6 separate regions of the Homo sapiens genome follow, and regions 2, 3, 4, 5 and 6 are each linked to region 1. Evidence: promoter capture Hi-C in 16 types of primary human blood cells and fetal thymus (Javierre and others, 2016). All regions are on one chromosome and are shown on one strand. Each heading gives the region's core, a stretch centred on a gene start or on the middle of the fragment in contact. The rest is flanking DNA. Distances are from core to core; before and after follow the strand shown.

Region 1 (3,854 bases), core at 627-3,126:
GGGAGTTAGGTAAACATTCAACTCCCCGACCCCACCAATGTCTAGCCCTTGTCATAACACCATTTATTGAATTATCTGTCCTTCCCCTAATATTTTGAAATGCCTGCAAAGTGAGGAAATTGTTCTTTGGTAATTTTTCAAATCTACACTGCGGATGATTTCCCTTTCACCCTCACCCCACACCCTCCCTTTTGTTGAGTATTTGCCTTAAGATGCAGGTGGTGGGTGAGGATGTGCCCCATTTTGCAGCTGGGCAGTCTGTCTATGGAGGCTGGGGTCACATCAACCCCAATCCTAACAGCTTTCTCCCCTGCTTTGGGCCCTTCAATGTGTCCACTTTCCTGAGACGCCTTAAGGGAATTTATGCAGATCTATAAAAGTGACGATGGTCCCCCCTCACAGCCACCTTTTCCCACCAATGCTTTGTCATGTACCTTCACGGCAGGATCTGAAACTTGTCCTAGTGTCCACAGCCGGTCTTGACCTTAACAGAACCTATGTACCCTTGTGTGAAGCAGAGGCCGCAGCCTTAGGACTCTGAGCCTTGGCCTTTGCTGTGTGCCGCCCTCCACCCCTTTCTCAGACTTGGGAGGAGTGAGGAGAGGAGCCACCTGGGGCAGTTCAGGAATGGGGAGCTTCAGGACAGTTTGCACCACACACTCTGGGACTTAGCTGTGCAACACCCCGACCCCCATGTGAGGAAGGTGGTGTTTGTTTGCTCCACCAGACTGTCAGCTCCTCCCTAGGAGCACGGAGTGTGTCTTGCTCACATTCGTATCCCCAGTGTCAGCACTTAAAATGGATTCAACGGATAAATGTTGAATGAAATTCAGAAATGATGTGCAATAGTAAAAGCTAACATTTAGGAATCAACTTATTACTTACAGACACCTTTGCATATTGAGTGAAATTAAGTTGTTTGATTTAACAAATCTGTGGCTTTGGGGTAGAGAACAAGAACATAGCAAGAGGAAGCATTCTTTATTAGTCCTTCACGAAAGAGGATGGACAGACACATCTACGGAGAGGGGCTCCAGAGGCAGGGACCCAGAGATACACCCGGCCAGGCAGAACAGCTCCAGGATGTGGCCCCGATCCTGGAAAAGTGCGTTTAAAAGAGGCTTAAGGCATATCAGACAGCCTGGCCAACATGGTAAAACCTTCATCTCTACTAAAAATACAAAAAAATTAGCCAGGCATGGTGGCACAGACCTGTAGTCCCAGCTACTTGGGAGGCTGGGGCAGGAGAATCACTTGAGCCCAGAAGGCGGAGGTTGCAGTGAGGCGACACCGTGCCACTGCACTCAAGCCTGGGAGACAGAGTGAAGGAAAAAAAAAAACAGGCATTATTAGAGAGGCTTTATCTCCTACGTGTTCAAAAGCAACCATGCTCCTCCCAGTATCTCAGGACGACTGGACTGCCTGTGTTCCTGTTGCTCTTCACAGAAGCTCCATGAAAGCGGGCTTCGCTTTTGTTCATGCAGCCAGAGGCTCAACACATGACCTCGAAGCCGCCAAGGCTTTATCAAACGGATTTCTCCCAAAAACTTCGTTTCCTTCCGCGACGCCCTGCAAGAACCCTGTATTCCTGAGTCCCTGGCTCAGCGTCTGCTACCCCGATGCTGTCAATCAGATCCTGCTAATCTGAGCGGCCGTGGCTCCGTCCCGGCTCCGCGTCCGCTGACAGGTCACCGCTGTGAGTCTCCGGATTACCAGTCCAAACGGGACGGCTTGAGGTCCCCGCGCCCTAGGGACCTGCGGGGCCCGAGCGCAGGGCGCGCCAGAGAACTACATTTCCCACAGAGCTCTTGGGAAGCCGGGGCCGCCGAGACCCACGGCCCGGCGGGCGGGCTCGCGGGGAGACTCCTGGGAGTTGTAGTCCATTCCGCCGGCGCCGGCGCTGGCGCTGCTGCGGGCTCGGCGCCGGCCTTTGTCTGCGGGCACGCGCCGCTGCGGTGAGTGAGGCCGCTGGCCGGGTCAGAGCGCCGGGGCAAGGCGGGGCTGCGCCATCAGACCGCTGTCCCGGGCCCTCCGTGTGGCCGCCTTATGCCAGCGGCCGCCAAGGAAATGAGCAGGCCTGGCCGGCCCGGGCCCCGAGGGAGGCCAGCCGCGAGCGGAGAGGTCGGCGGTCCGCAGAGCAGGGTCCCGTGGACCGGAGAGCGGGATGCCGAGGTTCAGGACGCAGGGCGGGCCCGGTGCCCGGGGCCCGGGGCCTGAGGCGGGAGGGCAGCGTCTGCGGAGAGGAGCAGGGCCCATGGCGTCGGGGCGTGGGAGGGGGAGGCCGCGGCAGGCTCACCCGGCCTCCGTGCGGGCTTCAGCGAGTGCGGGAAGCCGGTGCCGGCCTTCCGGGGTGGGAGGAGAGGCAGCCCCTGCGGGGGAGAGTAGGAAGCCAGGCAGCGTGTGGGAAACCACGCTACCCACAAGCTCCTAAACCTGAAACTGGCCCCAGGACATTTTCCAGACCGCCAAGTGTACCCCTCTTCTCATCCGCCCTCCAGAGGACGCCGGATTTTAGATCTTAAGTCTGGTGGTCTCGTCTGATACTCCTCTTGTTTGGTTCTTTCCTTCTCATTGTCCTACCTGATAGGACAGTGTTAGTAACCTGTTTAATAAGTGGGGAAGCAGAGTCAGGGCTGCTGGGTTACTCGCCCAAGATCATATCCTGGGGGAGCCACGGCAAGAAGCCAAGACTCACGGACTACTTCTAAGCTTTTTCCAAAGGATATAGTAGCCTTTCTAATAGGAAAATCAATGTTTTTAATTATAAAGCCACTTTTACAAAATCTTGGGGAAACTGCTTCCTCAGACCTGTGATCTAGGGAGAAAAATATGACAATTTCTCCCTTACTAATCACGGAGGTCCCTGATAGGCGGCGGAGTTGTAACTTGAAGACCTCACAGCAGGTGGAGAGGCAGAGCTGTGAATTCTACTCTAATTTCTGGAATCCCCGGCGACAGAGTCCAACCCCAGGCAGCAGGCGCCATGTACCCCAGGGACTTTTAATGTGTGTGCAGCTGTTGAGCAAGAATACCTTGAACTTCCAAATGATGTGCTGGCATGCTGGTAGGGAATTCCTTTGCAGCTTGTGTTCCAAGTTGGAAGTGAGTCCTCCAAATAAAAATTTAAATGATTCTCCTGGTCATCACAGCATGTAGCAGAATGTGCAGTTGTCAAGAAGAACCAGGTGCTTAGGTTGACAAAACAAAGAATGGTAGCATCATACTATTATTTCATTAAATCAGAAGGCCAGCATTTTGATAGGACAAATTAGAGGGAAACAAGGAGTATGCATTGAACCACTGCATTTCTTAAAAGTATAAGAATTCAGTAATTAGGATCCTGAAGTAAGAAGAAATATTTTTTTTAAAAAATAGATCATGTGGGCCAGGTGTAGTAGCTCATGCCTACATGTCTTGGGAGGCCGAGGCAGGAGGGTCACTTCAGGCCAAGAGTTGGAGACCAGCCTGGGCAGGATAATGAGACCCGATCTCTACAAAAAAAAGTTAAAATAATTTTTAAAAATTAGCCAGGCTTGGTGGTGCTTACCTGTAGTCCTAGTTATTTGGGAGGCTGAAGTGGGAGGATCCGTTGAGTCCAGGAGTTCAAAGTCACAGCAAGCTGTAATTGAGTCACTGTACTCCAGCCTGGGCAACAGAGCAAAATCTTGACTCAGAATTTTAAAAAAATTAAAAAATAATTTAGAGCACATACAAGAGGATTCCTAGGATCTGAAAGAGCACTTCAATCTGGTCAAACTCTCTTCCTTTCTGTTCAATTTTATAAGCATTCTGACCAGCTCTTTAGTGATTAGGAACTAGACAACTGTCTAATGTAAGAGCATACATTTTGGATC
Region 2 (3,854 bases), core at 854-3,353, 1.2 Mb before region 1:
TCTGGGTAATATTGTGATAAAGGTTTTCAACAAACACTGTCAAACAATGTCTTGTTTCCAGTTACATTTTCATGGAATGTAATTAGATTATTTTAGTGACCAATAGTGAAATGATTATGTCGTAAGCCAGGCTGCTTCAGGCCATAAGCTGATGTAGAGTTTTGGAGATGACACACTGATTGATCCTTGGCGTAGGCAGAGGTGAAATGTGCAGTTTATTGGGATGGTGATAACTCTACCTTGACTCCACATTCAGGATAAGTAGTAGATCTTTTAGTTAGAATTACAATTCTCCATTCAGAAAAACTCTGAAGAGTTTATGAAAGACCGTTTGTAGTGAAAAGAATTAACGTAGTATTTATTTATTTTCTGTTTCCATATGCCTTTAGGATTAAAAATATTTGGATTAAAAACATTTTTTTCTTTTTGAAATCAAAGTTTTATTTTGAGATCACTGTAGATTCTCATGCAGTTGCTAGAAATATTACACAGAGACCCCATGTGCTCTTTACCCAGTTGCTTTCAGTGGTTAAACAAATCCTGGTATATCCATGGTACCATGAATTACAGTACAATATCACCACCAGGATATTGACATCAGAACAGCCAAGCTACAGGGCATTCCACTGCCGCAAGGATTCCTCATGTGGTCTATTTATAGTCATACCCACTTTCTTTCCTATCTCCACCCCTCCTTAGACCCTGGATACCACGACTCTGTGCTCCACATCTATAATTCTGTCATTTTTGAGAATATTATGTAAATTGAATCAGATAGTGTGTATCTGATAGTGTGTAAGCCAGTCTTTTGGAACTGGCTTTTTCTCACTAGCATCATTCTCTGGATATTCATCTGTTTGATGTATTTATCTATAGTTTCTTCTTACTGCTGAGTAGTATTCCATAGTATGGATATATATTAATAGTACCCAATTGTTTAACCATCTACCTGCTGAAGGACATCTAGTTGTTTCCAGTTTTTAACTGTTGTAAATAAATTGCTATAAATATTTGTGAACAAGTTTTTGTGTGAATGTAAGCCTTCATTGCTCTAGGACAAATGTCCAAGAGTATAATCACTGGGTCATATGTTATTTGCATGTTTATTTTTTTAAAAAATTGCCAAACTGTTTTCCAATGTGGCTGAATGATTCTACATTCCTACTTGCAATGTACGAGTCATCCAATTTCTCTGCATCCATGCATTGGGTGTTGCACCCAACATTGGTTGTTGCACCCAACATTGGGTGTTGTTACTATTTTTTTTTTTTTTTTTTGAGACGGAGTCTCGTTTTATCGCCCAGGCTGGAGTGCTGTGGCGCGATCTCCGCTCACTGCAAGCTCCGCCTTCCGGGTTCACACCATTCTCCTGCCTCAGCCTCCCGAGTAGCTGGGACTACAGGCGCCCGCCACTGCGCCCGGCTAATTTTTTGTATTTTTAGTAGAGACGGGGTTTCACCGTGGTCTCGATCTCCTGACCTCGTGATCCACCCGCCTCGGCCTCCCAAAGTGCTGGGATTACAGGCGTGAGCCACCGCGCCCGGCCTTACTATTTTTTATTTTAGCTATTAATGTAGGTATATTGGTGGTATCTCATTGTGTTTTTAATTTGCATTTCCCTAAAGGCTAATGATGTAAAATATTTCATGGGCTTATTTTCCATCTGTATATCCACTTTGTCTTTGTGTCTTTTGTGCATTTTCTAATTCGATTTTTTTAATTGTTAGTTTTGAAGCTTCTTTATATATTCTAGATATTAGTGCTTTGTTGGATATATGATCTGCAAATATTTTCTTACACTCTGTAACTCATCTTATCATTCTTTCAACGAAAGTTTTTAGGCCAGGCACAGTGGCTTACACCTGTAATCCCAGCACTTCAGCAGGCTGAGGTGGTGGATTGCTTGAGCTCAGGAGTTTGAGAACAGCCTGGGCAACATGGCAAGCCCCTGTCTCTTTAAAGTAATAACACAAAAGTTTTAAACTTTGATAAAGCATTCCCTCCCCTTCTATTTCCTGGAAAAGATGTACAGAATTGGTGTTAATTCTTCTTTAGATTTGGTAGGAATCTCCAGTGGAATCCTGGAGATAAATATTTCCATCTGGGCATAAATATTTCTTTTAGGGGGTTTTAAAATTACAAATTAAATTTCCCTAATAGTTATTGGCTATTCAAACTATTTATTTATATTGGATGAGCTGTGGTAATTTGTCCTTTTCAAGGACTTGGTCCATTAAATCTAAGTTTTTGTAGTTATGTGTGCTAAGTTGTTTATGGCTTTCCCTCGTCACCCTTTTGCTGTCTGAAGGGTCTGTATTGGTTTTCCTTGTTTTATTTCTGATATTAGTAATTTGTATCTTCTCTCTTTTCCCTTTGCCAATCTTATTAGAGGTTTGTCAGTTTCATTGATAACCTATTGTTTTTCTCTTTTGAATTTCACTGATTTATCTTTGTTATTTCTGGAAGCTTGCTTTGGATTTATTTTTGTCTTCTCTTTCTAGGTTCTTGACAGAGGTACATAAATAAATGATTTGAAACTTTTGTTTTCTATTGTGTACATTCAGTGCTATAAATTTCCCTCTTAGCACTGCTTTTAACTGTGTCCCACAAATTTTAATGTTATGTTTTAATTTTTATTTAGCTCGATGCATTTACAAATTTTCCTTGAGATAGCCTCTTTGACTCAGACTATTTAGAAATGTGCTTGTGAGTTTACAAGTGCTTGAAATTTTTCCTGTTATCTTTCTCTTACTGATTTCTAGTTGATTTTATTGTGATTAGAGAACATACTCTCTCTGATTTCAATTCTTTTACATTTGCTGAGGCTAGATTTATAGCCTAAGATAGTGTCTGTCTTTGTTTTCTGTTGCTTATAACAGAATACTCAAAACTGGGCGATTGATAAAGAAAAGGATTTTTTTTTTTTTATGGTTATAGAGGCTGGGAAGCCCAAGGTTGAGGGCTGCATCGTGTAAGGACCTTCTTGCTGGGGCGGACTTGCTGCAGAGTCCTGAGATGGTGCAGGGCATCACATAGAAAGGGGGCTTAACATGCTCATGTCCTAGTTTAGGTCTCCCTTCCTTTTCTTGTAAAGCCACCAGTCCCACCTCTATGACAACTTATTAACCAATTAATCCATGAATGAACTAGTCCATTCATGATGACAGAGCCTTTATGACCCAATCACCTCTTAAAGGTCCCACCTCTCAATACTGCCACATTGGGGATTAAATTTTACAATGAGTTTTGAAGGGGACAAACACTCAAATCATAGCACTGTCTATCTTGGCATAGGTTTGGTGGGCACTTGAAAAGAATGTTCATTCTGCTGTTGAGTGGAGTGTTCTATAAATGTCAATGAGCTCTTGCTGTTTGATGGTATCCTTGATTATTTTTTGTCTAGTTTTTTTTTACCAATGGTTGAGAGGGGGTGTTAAAGTTTCCAATGATAACCGTTGACTTGTCTATTTTTCCTTTTAGTTCTATCTGTTTTCACGTCACATATTTTGTCGCTCTGTTGGTTGGTGCATACACGTTTAGCATTTCTATGCCTTCTAAATGGATTGACTCTTTTATCATTAAATAACGTCTCTGGTAATTGCTTTTGCTCTGAAGTCTACTTTATCTGATATGAACATTGTTACTCATTTTTTTGATTAGTGTTTGCATTATATATATATATATATTTTTCTTCTATCCATTTACTTTCTACTTGCCTATATTGTTATACTTGAAGTGAGTTTCTTATAAACAACATATATTTGGGCCATTTAAAGAGTGTTCTCTGCCAACCTCTACCTTTTATTTGGCCTCTTTAGTGCATTCATGGAGTACTTAATTCTATTCCAAATTAA
Region 3 (3,854 bases), core at 924-3,423, 1.2 Mb before region 1:
TCACCTCTCTGGCTAGCTCTCCCATTCCTGTACATTTACTCCAGGGGGAAAGTGCAGAGGAGGTGGGCCATGCCAGGAAGGGCACAGCCATTGGAGAATCTGAATTAGTGGATTTCAAGCAAAATTAGAGTCTGGGGCTAGGACCACCTGGAAGCTCCTGTGGTCTTCCAGAGCTGACACAAGTGGCAGTGAAAATGGCCTGAAGAAGAGGCAAAGGGACTTGCTACAACAGCCACTGGCACCTGCCTCTGGGCTTGCCTTTTGTCTCCCTTTCCTTGCTCTTTAAACCTGGCTATCCTTACCCTCCCTTGGAGAACACTCCTCCCAAGACTGACTGTAAAGTAAGGCTGCCCCTGCAGAGCCCGAAGATGAGCCTGGCTGAGAAACAAGGAATAATCTCCCGGCTTTCCAGACTCCCCTCTCCCCACTGCTGGTGAAGCTCATGGCTGGTGAAACCTTGGCATGTTTAACCTCTCCATACAAGTAACTCATTGACTGTAGATTTTAGAAGCATCTGAAAATACAAGATAACGTTAAAGTATGCATGTGTGTGTTTGAAAGAACAGATGGGAAAATCCCTTTCCCATAGCTATTAATAACACTTTCCAGGCACTAAAAGAACAACAGCCATAACTCTCACCCATCCAAAAAGTGCTGAGCACAGCACTTTCTTACTTTACACACCTCCTCCCTCCTAATTGCTCACTGGTTGGATTTCTGATCTGATAACTCTATTTAAAAACTGAGTTTTGCGGGAATTTCATCCTTGTCTGAGCTCTTTCTTTTGGCCAAGCTCTTCATCTCTGTAGCTGCCTCTCTTACCCTGTGAAACTGGCCAGGGTGGCACCTACTGCCAGAGGTGCTGCAACCCCAAACAGGGGCATGATTGTCATGTGGCTAGGGCCACTCAATGCAGTTCCAGAACACCCTAACTCCCCCAGAGGAATCGCCATGTGGGCCAAGTCCTGCATCTTCTGGCACTTGAGGTCCCTTCATCTTGTCTCCTGCCACTTGATAGAGGCCTGGTGTCAAATGAGCACTCTGCGAATGCTTATGGAATGAGCATTTTCACCTCTCACCTCTGCTCCCTCTGCTACCAAAGTTCTCAAGGTTCTTGGGTCACATCGTGGCCCTTCCTGGGTTTGAGTCTGAACAAGAACAAGCTGTTCTGTCTGCCCATCTTGCCTTAAGAGCACCCATTTTCCAGTTTCCTGATGCTGAGTCCATGTGTGTTTACCTTTGAAAGGAATCAATTGAAAATCTGCAAAAGGGTTGAAAAGTGGAAAATGGTGGCATAAATAGTCTGAGGCATAAAGGAAATTTTTGATGAAAGGAAGTCAATGGCATTGGAACCAGTGGTTTCCAGGATTCAGCACTGAGATGGGATAGAAATGGATGGGCTTCCCCAGAGAGTGTGAACCACCCCAGCTTGGAATAGTAGGGCTGGGAGCGCTGAGGCCAGGTAGGAAGCAAGTTGGAGGGAATGATTTGGAGGACCACACTAAGACGCTGCCCAAGCTTCACTTGGCTCAGCCTGCAAGCCAGGGAAAAGGAAGATGTGCCTGTAGGCTCTGAATACCAGTGGGCAGAAGCACAGGGTGTCTCAGCTGGCGCAGAGCTGCACAATACACCCAGGAAACACCAACCCCAATTACTCGGCCCTGCAGTGAAACCCTAATTCTTCTGGCAGCTGAGGCAGGATGAGCTAAGTTTGTATGGATGAGGGAAGTTGATCAAAATTTACTATTGAGTGAAAACATGAGTCACAAAAATTATATTTCCATATAGTACACACATGCATGCACAAACAAACATGCACACACACACACACACACACACACACACGCACATCCCTGAAGGGATTTACAACCAAACGAACTCAGGGTTCAGATTCGGAACTGGACTTTCTCTTATGGGTACTGTCTTATTTCTCCTCTCATGCAATGATCTTGTTCCTGATTCTGAGGGACTGGCTGATTCTGATTTCCTGGTGGTCATGCTTTGGGGAAGAAACCTCCAGTCCCCTGACTGTGCATCTCAAACCCTGATTTCCCTTCCAGGACAGTTCCATGTGTGTGCCTGCAGCCAATTTTCTTGATAAGTTGACTATAGCCTCCCAATAGAATCTATAGATTGTCTGTGGGATGTTTGCACTCCGTTGAGCCTGGTTTGATACATAAATGTTTGATTGACCACATAATTTAAGTAATGTCCATATTGTGTCACTGGAGGCCTCTGGGTGGAGGCTGGACCTCAGGGGCCTGTGGAAAGATGCTTGGATTTTCTTCTAAGTTTAAAGGGGACTGGATCTCGGCTGCCATGTCATTACCCTCTTTTACTCAGCCTCTGCATAACCCCTGGTTCTGATGGTGCACAGGTGGGAAGGCCATTGTGCCTCCCTTATTCTGGGCCACAGGAGACACCCGGCTCTGAGCACTCAGCCAGAGGCCTCAGGATCACCCCAGGGAGACTGGCACCCAGCCAGCTCATTGCCTGACTTGGCTGCAGCCCCAGCCTGTCTTTGAGGTATTTAGAAAGCGCAGCATGAATGCCTCTGGCATGGCCCCAGCTGTGGGAAAATAAAATGCGTCATTTCTCAGAGACAAGTTCTCAGTGTCAAGTTCAGTGTCATTCAAGTGGCCCTAATAGAAGACTGTGCTTCCTGTCCAGGGAGTATTGCCCTCCCATGTTGGACAACTGCAGGTGCCACTGTCCAGAGGACACAGGGACAACCTGAGAGACCTGGTTCTGATTTTCTATAAAGAAAATTCATCACCTGAATTTCCACTATTTTAAGACAATCTCCATTGTTAAAAAAAATAAGCTTTGATGCACTGAAATTTCGGAGTTTATTTAAGCAGTAATTCATGAATTGGGCAGCTCCAAACTAGAGTGGTTTGGAACTCCCCAGAGGTAGATGAAAAGCTTTAAAAGGGTGAATATGGAAGCAGAGCAAATAAATTAATTGGTTAAAATTTGAACAATGGCCTCATTTGGACTATGTAGGTGGGAAGTTCAAAGTGATATAACTAATAATGTCCAGTTGGCTGGTGGTGGGCTGAGCTTAAGTTTAATTTTTAAAAAATTAGTCATATATAGGAAATGAGTCTGAGTTGGGTTTCAGGGGTTTGTTTATGTAGGAACAAAGGGCATTGGAGCCACCTCAGTCTAATGGCCTCCCCATTTAATTATTTTAACATCGTTAGTATTCTAGAACCAACCTTTATATTTTAAAACATATATAGAGCACTCTCTCTCTCTCTCACACATACACACATATACACGTGTGTACATATGTATACATATTTATTTTTGTGTATTGATCTTTTATCCTGTGACCTTGCTGAACTTACTTATTCTAGGTTTGTTTGTTTGAAAAATTTCTCAGAACTTTCTATGTAGACTATTATGTCATCTCCCAGTATTGAAAGTTTTTCTTTCCATCCTATGTGCCTTTTACTTTCTTTTCATTCCTCATTGTGCTGGCTGGATTTTCCAGTACTGTGCTGAATGATAGTGGTGAGAGTGGACATCCTTTTCTTGTTCTAGAGCTTAGGTGCAAGCACTTGTCCTTTCACTGTTAAGTATAATAGCTATGGATATTTTGTAGTTGTTCTTTATTTCTAAACTTCTAGTCCTCAGTGGTCCCCTATCCATGAATCATTTTTTTTTGCTCAATTAAACTGTTAAATTTAATTTATCTAAGGTTTTTCTTTTAATAGTTATATCTGAAGTATTTTTGTCTGTTTGTTTTTTAGACTGTGTATAGTTGGGTCATATTTTTGATTTAATTCACCCTGTCAATTTCTGTTTCTGCTTTTCATTTGGTATATTTAGACCATTTACATGCACAA
Region 4 (3,854 bases), core at 518-3,017, 1.1 Mb after region 1:
ATCTCTTAGGCACTGTCCATTTTTCACCATTCTTTTTCTCTGCTCCACAGAATGAGTAATCTCCATCAGTGTCTTCAATTTTGCTGATTCTTTGTTCTCTTTGAGCTCCAATCTTTTATTAAATCCTTTGACTGATTTTAAAAAAATTTAGTTTTTGTACTTGTCAGCTCCAGACATTCCTAATTACATTTTTGTAATTTTGTTCTGTATATTAATATTTTATATTTGGCAGGGCATCGCTCACCTGCTTTCTGTTAGTTGTCTGGTTTCATTTAGCTTTTTGTGCACATTTAGAACAGTTGATTTAAATTCTTTATCTAGTAAGACCAATAACAAAGGTGTCTTTGAGGACAGGTTTTATTCATTTCTTTTTTCTGTGTGTCTGTGGGTCATATTATCTTCTTTGCATTCCTCATAATTTTTTATTGAAAACTGAACATTTTGAATATTAAAATGTGTTAATTCTAGAAATCAGATTCTTTTCCCCAGAATTTGTTGTTGCTGTTTATTTTGCATTGTTTGTTTATTTTGTGACTTTTCAAAACTATTTTTGTAAAGTTCTTTGTTGTACATGGTCACAGAAACCTCTGTTCCCTTAGTTTAGTGGTCAGTTTGTGATCTGACAGAGATTTCTTTAAATGCCCAAAGCCAAAACAAAACAAAAAACTATTCTGGTCTTTGCATATTTGCCCTGTTTTAGGGCGCTCTTGTAATGGTTTGCCAGGCCATTTACATCTCTGTGTAAAGCTTTACTTCCTGCTTACACTGAGCCTGAAGGTCAACCAGACTGAAAGCTTAGGTTCCTCTCAGGTTTTTTGTGAGCGTGCATATTGCCCTGGCCTTGCACATGACCTCAATTCCCTGGTTTATGCAGGAGCTTTTCAAACCCCTTATCCCCACCCCGGCCCCCATGTATTTCCTTCCCAGTTTTTCCACTCCCAGTTTTATCAGTCCATCTGCTGCTTTTCTCATCTGGCTGCTGAGGCCAGATAATTGCCTTTAAATGCTTTCAACTAGCACTTCCTGGAAGACTAGCCCTGAGAAAGTTCCAAGGCAGGCAAAACAAAGACAAGCCTGTGAGCCACTTCTTCAGAGAGCCCGCATAGACAGATCAAAACACACAACTACAGTTCTCTGAAAACAAAGTGCATACTGTCCACTTTGGCACAGGCATCAGCAAGCCACGCCAGAAATGTTCTGGGCTTACTAGGTTTTTAATTAGATTGGAGAATTCTGAAAAGCTTGATGCTGAGAGGGTTTTTTTTGTTTTTCCAGCTTAATTGTTGCTTTAGTTTGGGATGGAATTTTGGAATTACCTATTCCATTTTCAGCCTGCTTCCCACATCAATTTTTGAGTAATTACTCTGTGGCACAACAGATATGCCTGGCCCATCTTGTCCTTTTCCTGCACTACCTTTGCCATCAGCCATTTCTCCAAAGGACATTGTTCTTTCTAGTGGAGGATGGAATTTAAAAACCAAGATCTGGGTGCTCATTGCTAGAGGCTGTCACTGCCTCAGACCCTCTCAATTGACAGAGATAGGAAATACATGTATGTATGTGTACATACACATACACAGAAATACACATGTGTACACTTATTTTTGTATTGGTCTGTCTATACATATTTTTTAAACAATGAGTTTACATAGACATTTCCCAGTTTCAATCTTAACCCCATAGCCTTTCTGTTTTCCATCTTTGTAACTTCTTTCTCCAATAGTGAGAAACCAGGCTATATCATTATCCACAATATTTATTTGCTCCTTCTCCCTGTTTGTATCCAATCTTTTTTTTTTTTTTTTGAGATGGAGTTTCACTCTTGGTGCCCAGGCCAGAGTGCAATGGCATGATCTCAGCTCACTGCAACCTCCACCTTCTGGGTTCAAGCGATTCTCCTACCTCAGCCTCTGAAGTAGCTGGGATTAGAGGCATGTGCCACCATGACTGGATACTTTCGTATTTTTAGTAGAGACGGGGTTTCTCCATGTTGGTCAGGCTGTTCTCGAACTCCCAACCTTAGGTGATCTGCCCGCCTTGGCCTCCCAAAGTGTTGGGATTACAGGCATGAGCCACTGCGCCCAGCCTGTATCTAATCTCTTAAACCTGCCAGTGCTACCTGTCTCCTCAGCTCTGGTTTGATCCCTTAGATCACCATCTTCCTGGAATTATCCATACTTGCTATATTAAATATTCAAATCAGATTTGATGTATTAAAAAATTTTAGAAGTTAAAAGGGGCCATTTGACAAAGTCTTATTTTTGGAAAAACATTATTACTTTATGTAAGCTTATCAAAAATAAAATTTCTGCTTATTGGCAGCACAGTATCTAAACCTGTCTCTCCAGGTTGTGAAGCCACTACTTTGTCCATTAAGTTATAAGGACACTTATCTCATTCATGAAGGAAGGCAGAGCTTCCTAATCACCTCCTAAAGGCCATGCCTCTTCATACTATTGCAATGGTATTAGATTTCAACATATGAAGTTGTGAAGGGCACAAACATTCAGACCATAACACTTAAGTATTTTATTCTACTGGATACTATCATAAATGGGATTATTTTCTGAATTTCCTTTTGGATAGTTCATTGTTGGAGTTTTTTTTTTTACAGAAAACCTAATTGTTATGTGTTGATTTTGTACTCTGCAACTTCGCCGAAACCATTTGTTAGCTCATAGTTTTTTTGTGGATTATTTGCTAAATAATGTTATCTGCAAATAGAGTAGTTTTACTTCTGCCTTTCAATTTGAATGTCTTTTATTTCTTTTTCTTGCCTATTTGCTCTGGCTAGAACTTTTAATACAGTGTTGAATTGCAGTGGTGAAAGCACTATGCTTTGCCTGTTCATGATCTTAGAGGGGATGTTTCAGTCTTTCACTATGGAGTATGTTACCTGTGAGTTTTTTATATATGCACTTTATTATGTTGAAGAACTTTGCTTCCTTTCCTCTGTTTTCTGACTTTTATTATCCTTGAATGGTATTGGGTTTTGTATTTTTTTCTGCCTCATTGATATGATCACGTGTTTATTCATTTGTTTTATTAATGTGGTGTCTTACACTGATTAATTTTCTTATATTGAACCACTCTTGCATTCCTGGGATAGATCCAACTTGGTCATAGTATGTAATGTTTTTAATATGCTGCCAAATTTTGTTTGCTAGTATTTTATAATTTTTTACATCTGTATTCATAAGGGATATTAGCCTGTAATTTTATTTTCCTGTGAAGTCTTTTTTTGGCTTTGGTATCAAGATAATGCTGGCCAGCATTATAAAACTCATGGGAATTAGTTAGGAAGTATTCCCTTCTAATTTTTGGAAATGTTTGAGGAAGATTAGTATTACTTCTTTAATTTGATAGAATTGACCAGTGAAGCCATCTTACGCTGGATTTTTTTCCCTTGGGCAGTTTTTTAAAAAATTACTGATACATCTCTTTACTTGTTATAAGTATGTTGAGATTTTCTGTTTCTTCTTGAGTCAGTTTTAGTAATGTGTGTGCTTCTAGGAAATGTGTCTATTTCATTGAGTTACTTAATTTATTAGTGTACAGTTGTTCATAGTATTCTCTTATAACCCATTTTTTTTTGTAATGTCACTTTCATTGCTGATTTTAGTCCTTTGAATTTTTTTTCTTTAGTCAATCTAGCTAAAAGCTTATGAATTTTGTTCTATTTAAGGAATCAGCTTTTGGATTTTTTGGTTCTCTGTAGTTTTCTATTTTCTGTTCACTTATCTTTGCTGTAATATGTATTATATCCTTCCTTCTGCTAGCTTTGGGTTTAGTTTGATCCTTCTTTGCTAGTTGCTGAAAGTGTAAAGTTATTGATTTCTTTCTTTTTGAAAATA
Region 5 (3,854 bases), core at 397-2,896, 1.0 Mb after region 1:
AATGGTCAAAGGAACCATATATATATATATATATATATAAAATATGAAACAATTTTGAGAAATTTTTTCTCAGAAGTTTTGAGAAAAAGAATAGTAGGAGGAATTATTGTATCCAGTGTTAAGGCTTATTACATTAGTCTCCCCTTTTCTGTGGTTTTGCTTTCTGCAGTTTCTGTTACCTGAGGTCAACTGTGGTTCAAAAATATTAAATAGGAAACTTCAGAAATAAGTAATGCCTAAGTTTTAAATTGCACACTGTTGTGAGTAGCATGATGAAATTTTGCACTGTCCTGTTCCAGGACATGAATCAACCCTGTGTCCAGCATACCCAGGCTGTATATGCTACCCATGAGTTAATTACTTAGTAATTGTCTTGATTATTTACTGTCACTATATGTGTCCAAGTAACCCTTATTTTACTTAATAATGGCCCTAAAGTGCAAGAGTAGCGATGCCAGCATATTGTTATAACTTTTCTATTTTATGATGTTGTTAATCTCTCCCTGTCCCTAAGTTATAAATTAAACTTTATCTTAGGTTTGTATATTTAGGAAAAAACAGTATTTATAGGGCTCAATACTATCTGAGGCTTCAGGCTTCCACTGGGCGTCTTGGAATGTATCGCCCTTGGATAAGGAGTGACTACTGTATGTATATATTAATAGCTATAATAATCAAGAGGACAGGATGTTGGTTGAATATACACATTGATAGAACATACACATAGAACAATGGAAAAGAATAGAAAACTTCAACATTGATTATGCTGTTATAGACTGTATGTTCATGTCTCCCCAAAATTCATATGTTGGAGCCCTCAACCCTAGTGTGGTGGTGTTTGGAGATGTGGAGCCCTTGGGAGGTAATTAGGGTTAGATTAGGTCATGAGGGTGGGGCCCTCACGATGAGGTTAGTGCCTTACAGGAAGAGGAAGTGAGAGCTTCCTCACTCTCCATGTGCGTAGAGGAAAGGCGATGTGAACATGCAGTGGCCAACTGCAAGCTGGGAAGAGGCCCTCACCAGGCCCTGGCCATGCTGGCATCCTGATCTCAGACTTCCAGCATTTGGAACCGTGAGGAAATAAACTTCTGTTGTTTAAGCCATACTGTCTGGTATTTTGTTATGGCAGCTGAAGCTAAGACATTTGACAAACTGTTGACAAAAATGCAAAAGAAATTCAGTCAGGTATTCAGCAAATGATGCTGGAGCATTTTGACAATATATTGTTTTGTGTGTAGTAAAATATATATAACATGAAATTTGCCATTTTAACAGTTTTTAAGTGTACAGTCTAGTGGCATTACACTCACAATGTTGTATAGCCATAACCACAATTTCTAAAACATTTGCATTATTTCAAACAGAAACTGTATTGCCATTAAGCAGTAACTACTCATTCCCCCCTCCCAACAGCCTATGGTAACCTCTTATCTAGTTTGTCTCTGTGAGTTTTGAATGTTGTGAATATTTCATGTCAGTAGTGTGACAACATTTGGCCTTTTGTGTCTGCCTTATTTCACTTAGCATGATGCTTTCAGCTTTCATCTGTATTGTAACAAGTATCAAGACTTTCTTTTCTGGCTGTTTAATCCATTCATCTGTTGATGTACACTTGGGTCGTACACCTTTTGGCTGTTGTGAATAATGCTTCAGTGAACACTGGTATATCATTATCTGCTCAAAGTTCCTGTTTTCATTTCTTTTGGATATAAACCTAGGAGTAGAATTGTTTTATCAAAGTGTATTTCTTTTAGCTTTTTGGGGTACCACTGAATTATTTTTAATGTGTATATATACACAGATATTTGTTTTTGAGACAGAGTCTCACCGTCACCCAGGCCAGAGTGCAGTGGCACGATCTCGGCTCACCACAGCCTCTGCCTCCTGTGTTCAAGTGATTCTCCTGCCTCAGCTTCCCGAGTAGCTGGGACTACAGGCGCATGCCACAGTGCCCAGCTAATTTTTGTGGCTTTAGTAGAGACGGGGTTTCACCATGTTGGCCAGGCTTGTCTTGAACTCCTGACCTCAGGTGATCACCCACCTTGACCTCCCAAAGTGCTGGGATTACAGGCGTGAGCCACCGCACCCGGCCGTACCTACTCTTTCTTTTGTTGCTTATCCATTTTATGTCATAGTTAAGAATCCATCACCAAACCCAAAGTTTTCCTTATGTTTTCTTCTGAACATTTCTTCTAAACATTTTATTGTTTTAGCTCTTATTTTCAGTTCATTTTTGTGTATAGTCAAAGTAGGGATCTAACTTTATTTTCTAACTTTATTTTCATGTGGAAATCCAGTTAACCCAGCATCATTTTTTTGGTCATTTGTCATCATTTCAAACAGAAACTCTATCACCATTAAGCAGTAACTACTCATTCCCATTCCCACCAGCCTGTGGTAACCTCTAATCTATTTTGTCTGTGAGTATGACTGTTGTATCTCATGTCAGTAGCGTGACAATATTTGGCCTGCATTAACTGAAAGAAAAGGCTTTTCTTTCTCCCAGTGAATAGAATTGACGCCCTTGTCAAAAATCAGTTGACCATAGGCAGTGTATTTTTGGGCTCTCACTTGTATTCCGTTTGTCTGTATGTCTACACCTATGACATGACCCACTGTTTGGATTATTGTAGCTTTCTAATAAGTTGTGAAATTGGACGTTTTGAGTCCTCTGACTTTGTTCTTCTTTTTAAAAATTGTTTTCGCTATTCAGGGCCCTTATAATTCCACGTGACTTTAAGGATCAGCTTTTTATTTTGGTAAAAATGCTGATGGAATTTTGATAGGGATTGTGTTAAATCTGTAGATCATTTTGGATGGTATTAGCCTTTTAAAAATATGACATCTCTCAAACTGTGAACATGAGATACTGTTTCCTTTATTTATGCCTTCTTTAATATTTTTCATCAGTATTTTGTAGTTTTTAGTATACAAGTCTTGCACCTTCTTGGTTAACTTTATTTCTAGATAGTATTTTATTCTTTTAGATGGTGCTATAGGTAGAATTGTTTTCTTAATTTTCTTTTCAGATTGTTCTTTGCAGGTGTGTAGCAACACAACGGATTTTTGTGTGTTGATGTATCCTGCAACTTTGCAGAATTCATTCATTAGCTATAGTATCTTTCTTGTAGTTTCTTTATGATCTATCTTTAGGATTATGTCACCTGTGAGTAGGCATAGTTTTATGTCTTCCTTTGCAATGGATGCCTCTCTTTCTTTTTCTTGTTTGGCTGGAACTTCTACTGCAGTGTTAAATAGCACTGGCAAAAGTGGGTATTTTTGTCTTCTTCCTGATGTTAAGAGGAAAGCTTTCTTTCATCAGTGAATATGATGTAAAGCTGTGAATTTTCTATATGTGCCCTTTATCATGTTGAAGAAGTTCTATTCTGTTTTGTGTTTTCTGAATGTATTTGTCCTGAAAGGGGTTGGATTTTGTCAACTGCCTTTACTGCATCAACTGAGATGATCGTGTCCTTTTTTTACTTGTTTTATTAATGAAGTGTATTACATTCATTTTCTTTTCTTTTTTTTTTTAAAAACATTGATTTTCTTATGTTGAACCACACAGGCATTTCCAGGATAAGTCCCCCTTGGTCACTTGGTCATGGTGTATACTCCTCTTAATATACCATTAAATATATTTTACTGGTATTTGTGTGTGTGTGTATGTGTTTGTGTAGCTTTGTATCTGTATTCATACGCATCATTCATTCATTCATTTATTCATTTGCATTTGTATTTTTTTTTTAAAAGAGTCTCACTCTGTTGCCCAGACTGGAGTGCAGTGGCACAATTATGGCTCACTGTAGCCTCGAACTCCCAGGCTCAAGTGATCCTCCCCACTCATCCTCCTG
Region 6 (3,854 bases), core at 1,230-3,729, 1.0 Mb after region 1:
GGCCTGGATGTCATTAAGTGAAATAAGTCAGACACAGAAAGATAATTACTGCACATTTTCACTTATATTTGGGAGCTAAAAAAATTGGGGCTCATAGAAGTAGTGAGTAGAATTATGGGCATTAGAGGGTGAGGGGGTAGTGGGGAGGGCAGGATGGGGAAAGGTTGGTATATGAATACAAAATTACAGCTAGATAGAAGAAATGAGCTCTGGTGTTCCACAGCCCTGTAGGATAAATATAATTGACTGTAATTTATTGTGTATTTTCAAAAAGCTAGAAGAGAGGATTTTGAATGCTTACAACACACACACAAATGTCTGAGGTGAGGGATATGCTAATTAACCTGATTTGATCATTATACATTTTATACACATGTCAAAATATCAGTCTATATCCCCTAAATATGCACAATTATTAGGTGTCAACGAAATGTAAAAGGGAAAAAGGTACAAAAACCGAAGAAGAAATGAGAGGAAAAAATGAGCCTCCAGAGTTAATCAAATTCACCGTAAAAATGAATAGCTGTGGCCAGGTGTGGTGGCTCAGGCCTGTAATCTCAGCACTTTGGGAGGCCGAGACTGGTGGATCACCTGAGGTCGGGAGTTCGAGACCAGCCTGAACAACATGGAGAAACCCCGTCTTTAGGAAAAATACAAAAAATTAGCCAGGCACGGTAGCACATGCCTGTAATCCCAGCTACTTGAGAGACTCACTTGAACCCGGGAGGCAGAGGTTTCAGTGAGCCAAGATCATGCCATTGCACTGCAGCCTGGGCAACAAGAGCAAAACTCTGTCTCTGTCTCAAAAAAAAAAAAAAAAAAAAAAAAAAATAGAATAGCTGTGATGGTTAATGGTTAATTTTATGTGTAAACTTGACTTGGTCACAGGGTGTCTGGATTAAACATTACTTATGGGTGCATCTGTGAGGGTGTGTACAGATGAGATTAGCATTTGAATCAGTAGACTCAGTAAAGCAGATTGCCCTCCGTATGTGTATGGACATCATTCAATCCCCTAAGGGCCTGGATAGAACACAAGGCAGAGAGGAGGAATTCACCCATATTTTCTGCCTCATTGTTGAGTTGGGACATTTCATCTTATCCTTTCCTGTCCTTGCACTGGGATTTACACCATTGGCTTCCGTGGTTCTCAAGCCTTTGGACTCATACCAGAATTACACCACCAGCATTCTTGGATTTCCAGCTTGCAAATGACAGATTGTTGGACTTCTTAGCCTCCATAGACATGTGAACCAATTTCTCATCATCAATGTCTCTTTCTCCCTTACTCCCTCCTATTGGTTCTGTTTCTCTGGAGAATCCTGATTAATACACTGGGAATAAACATTTCCCCAAGCCCATACCATAGGTGTATATTAGTGTTTTTTACAATCTTTTCAAATCTTAAACTTAAAAATATTTTATTTATTTACAATTTCTCCCAATTGGAAACAACTTGCATATCCCTGGACTGGGGAATGGACAAGGAAGCTGGTAAATCCATACCAAGAAATAGGAGTCAGCAATGTCAGAGTTGACAAATTACTCTTCAGAAAGCTTTAGTTCCCTGTTGTTTGTTGCTCAAGACCAACTTCCTTGTACTTCCTTGTCTCCAAGCTACCTGTTCTGTAAACAACCTTCCCGCCTTTGCCATGCCCAGACAAGTCCGGATATGCCTTCCCGCTTAGTAATGGACAGTCCCCCTTCCTTCCCGCCTAATAGACCCTGTCAATTTTAAACCTTAGCCAATCGAGTTAGCTTTGATTGTGAGGTCTAATCCCAGCCAATGGGGAAGGGACACAGAAGTGCTAGGAACTGCATCAGGGATAAAAACCCCTGCCCTGCCCTTCTCGGTGTTCTCTTGTGATCATGACTGGCATAACCTGCACCCTTCTGCAGAAGTAAATTTCTCTTGCTGAGGAATTTTCTGCCTTTGTGCTGGTTTTCTCTGCGGCACCAGGCACTTGTTTCTAACAGCAAGAAAAACAGAAGTATTGGTACACAAAACAACACGGAAGGATCTCAATTGCATTGTGTTAAGTAAAAGATACCAGATTCAAAGACTGCATATTGTATGATTCCATTTATATAATATTCTAAAAAAGGCAAACATACAGGCCCAAAGACTAGATAGTGGCTGCAAGAGGCTAAGAGTGGTTAGAGAATCTGACTTTCAAAAGGTAGCATGGAGGAATTTTATTGACAGGTGAAATAATTTTGTATCTTGCTTGTGGTGGTGGTTACACAAATCTGTGCGTTTGTCAAAACTCATAAAATTATGCAACAAATAAAGTGAACTTTTCAGTATATAAAGCATAAATTTAAAAATGTAAATTTCAATATGTTTCACATATTTTTACTCAAATATTTGCATTTCCTTTTTTCTTTTTTTCTTTTTTGAGATGCAGTCTCACTCTGTCACCAGGCTGGAGTGTAGTAGTGCGATCTTGGCTCACTGCAACCTCCACCTCCCGGGTTCAAGCGATTCTCCTGCCTCAGCCTCCTGACTAGCTGGGACTACAGGTGCGCACCACCACGTCCAGCTAATTTTTGTATTTTTAGTACAGAAGGGGTTTCACCATTTTGGGCAGGATGTTCTCAATGTCTTGACCTCATGATCTGCCCGCCTCAGCCTCCCAAAATGCTGGGACTACAGGCGTGAGCTGCCATGCCCGGCCATATTTGCATTTCTTTCAATTCTCATAATGGACTTAAAAAGTTTTGCTGGAATGGAGCTGCTTATTTTTCTCTATTATAAAATGTAACTGATATTAAATTTATAGTTTCTGTCTTTGGTATCACATCCCTTTTTGGTTTTTTTTGAGACAAAGTCTCACTTTGTCACCCAGGCTGGAGTGCAGTGGTGCCATGATGGCTTACTGCAACCTGGGGCTCAAGTGATCGTCCAACCTCAGCCTCCTGAGTAGCTGGGATCACAGGCGCCTGCCTACATGCCCAGCTAATTGTTATTTTTAATTTTTTGTAGAGACAGGGGTCCCACTATAACGCCCAGGCTGGTCTTGGACTCTAAGGATCAAGTGGTCCTCCTGCCTCCACCTCCCAAACTGCTGGGATTACAGGTGTGGGCCACTGTGCCTGGCCCACATGTCAATTTTCAAAAATTTATACTCGTTTAAATGTTTCAATACTGTATACATGTGAATTTTATCACGTGTGATCTATATATATCTCTATATTCCAAATTGTTAGGAATGACATGCTCTTTGGAATACTCCATTCTTTCCCTCACTGTTTTGAAATGCTGTATTTACTACACATTAAAGAATACTCTCAATCATGGTGTCTTATTTCCATGGAGCAGGTGCCAAACTACTTTGAATAGAGCAATATTATATATATAGATAGATATAGATATTTCTCAGGCATTTTTTCAAGCTTTTTAAAACGTATAATGGCTGTTCATTTAGTTTTTTACTTACTCTGGATAAAGTTGACAATGCTTTTGTAAAGTACACAATACACTAAAGATCAAAGAGAAAAAATACATAAAAAAATTTGTTGATATTCTTTTAGGAATTTTGTCTTCCTAAGAAAGGTACAGATAGACTAAATGTATTTCCATTTAGTCAAGCAATTTTAATGTCACAGGGGAAATCATGTGACATTTATTTTCTTCTTTCGGATTATGTCTATTTTCTGACTTTTCAATTTCCGTTTATTGCGTTAACGATTTTGATGAAGTAGCTTTCCTGTGGCACCTCCCCCATCCCCCCCATCCCTGCTCTCAAAGAATCGCTGATAGTGTCAAAGTCTTTTAAACTGTATCAATAAGATCTACTTCCTAACATTTAAAGTGAAACTGACACACAGCTGTCCTTTCCTTGAGGCGTCTG

The links. The method cuts DNA at HindIII sites, captures the fragments that hold promoters and counts their contacts. A CHiCAGO score of 5 or more calls a contact.
Region 2: a fragment that was not itself captured here is called in contact with the fragment with the promoter of ZNF32 in region 1 in 2 of 17 cell types (neutrophils and endothelial precursors); the score reaches 7.7 in neutrophils.
Region 3: a fragment that was not itself captured here is called in contact with the fragment with the promoter of ZNF32 in region 1 in 1 of 17 cell types (endothelial precursors); the score reaches 5.2 in endothelial precursors.
Region 4: a contact is called between a fragment that was not itself captured here and the fragment with the promoter of ZNF32 in region 1, in 1 of 17 cell types (non-activated CD4 T cells). The highest score is 5.6, in non-activated CD4 T cells.
Region 5: a contact is called between a fragment that was not itself captured here and the fragment with the promoter of ZNF32 in region 1, in 1 of 17 cell types (total CD8 T cells). The highest score is 6.1, in total CD8 T cells.
Region 6: a fragment that was not itself captured here is called in contact with the fragment with the promoter of ZNF32 in region 1 in 7 of 17 cell types (total B cells, naive B cells, activated CD4 T cells and 4 more); the score reaches 7.3 in total B cells.

What each region holds. Positions count from the first base shown.
Region 1 is chr10:43,646,903-43,650,756 of GRCh38, reverse strand. ZNF32 (zinc finger protein 32) reads left to right here and starts at 1,876. Exons shown (of 3, transcript NM_006973.3): 1 at 1,876-1,955. All of the region lies in intron 1 of ZNF32-AS3 (ZNF32 antisense RNA 3), which reads right to left. It overlaps ZNF32-AS2 (ZNF32 antisense RNA 2), which reads right to left. Exons shown (of 3, transcript NR_047558.1): 2 at 3,548-3,645; 3 at 2,738-3,188. RefSeq lists a silencer at 1,851-2,370. The HindIII fragment of the contact is 4,172 bases long and covers 1-2,711 here.
Region 2 is chr10:44,840,465-44,844,318 of GRCh38, reverse strand. The region is part of intron 2 of TMEM72-AS1 (TMEM72 antisense RNA 1); the gene reads left to right. Among named protein-coding and RNA genes, the nearest start is that of TMEM72, 69 kb to the left of the region's middle. The HindIII fragment of the contact is 731 bases long and covers 1,738-2,468 here.
Region 3 is chr10:44,800,816-44,804,669 of GRCh38, reverse strand. No RefSeq gene overlaps it. Among named protein-coding and RNA genes, the nearest start is that of TMEM72, 110 kb to the left of the region's middle. The HindIII fragment of the contact is 1,306 bases long and covers 1,521-2,826 here.
Region 4 is chr10:42,541,186-42,545,039 of GRCh38, reverse strand. It overlaps the pseudogene ZNF37BP. Among named protein-coding and RNA genes, the nearest start is that of LINC00839, 68 kb to the right of the region's middle. The HindIII fragment of the contact is 1,048 bases long and covers 1,244-2,291 here.
Region 5 is chr10:42,621,224-42,625,077 of GRCh38, reverse strand. All of the region lies in intron 4 of ZNF33B (zinc finger protein 33B), which reads left to right. Among named protein-coding and RNA genes, the nearest start is that of ZNF33B, 15 kb to the left of the region's middle. The HindIII fragment of the contact is 3,328 bases long and covers 1-3,310 here.
Region 6 is chr10:42,638,850-42,642,703 of GRCh38, reverse strand. The region is part of intron 1 of LOC105378268 (a long non-coding RNA gene); the gene reads right to left. Among named protein-coding and RNA genes, the nearest start is that of ZNF33B, 2.2 kb to the right of the region's middle. RefSeq lists a silencer at 829-1,123. The HindIII fragment of the contact is 1,839 bases long and covers 1,560-3,398 here.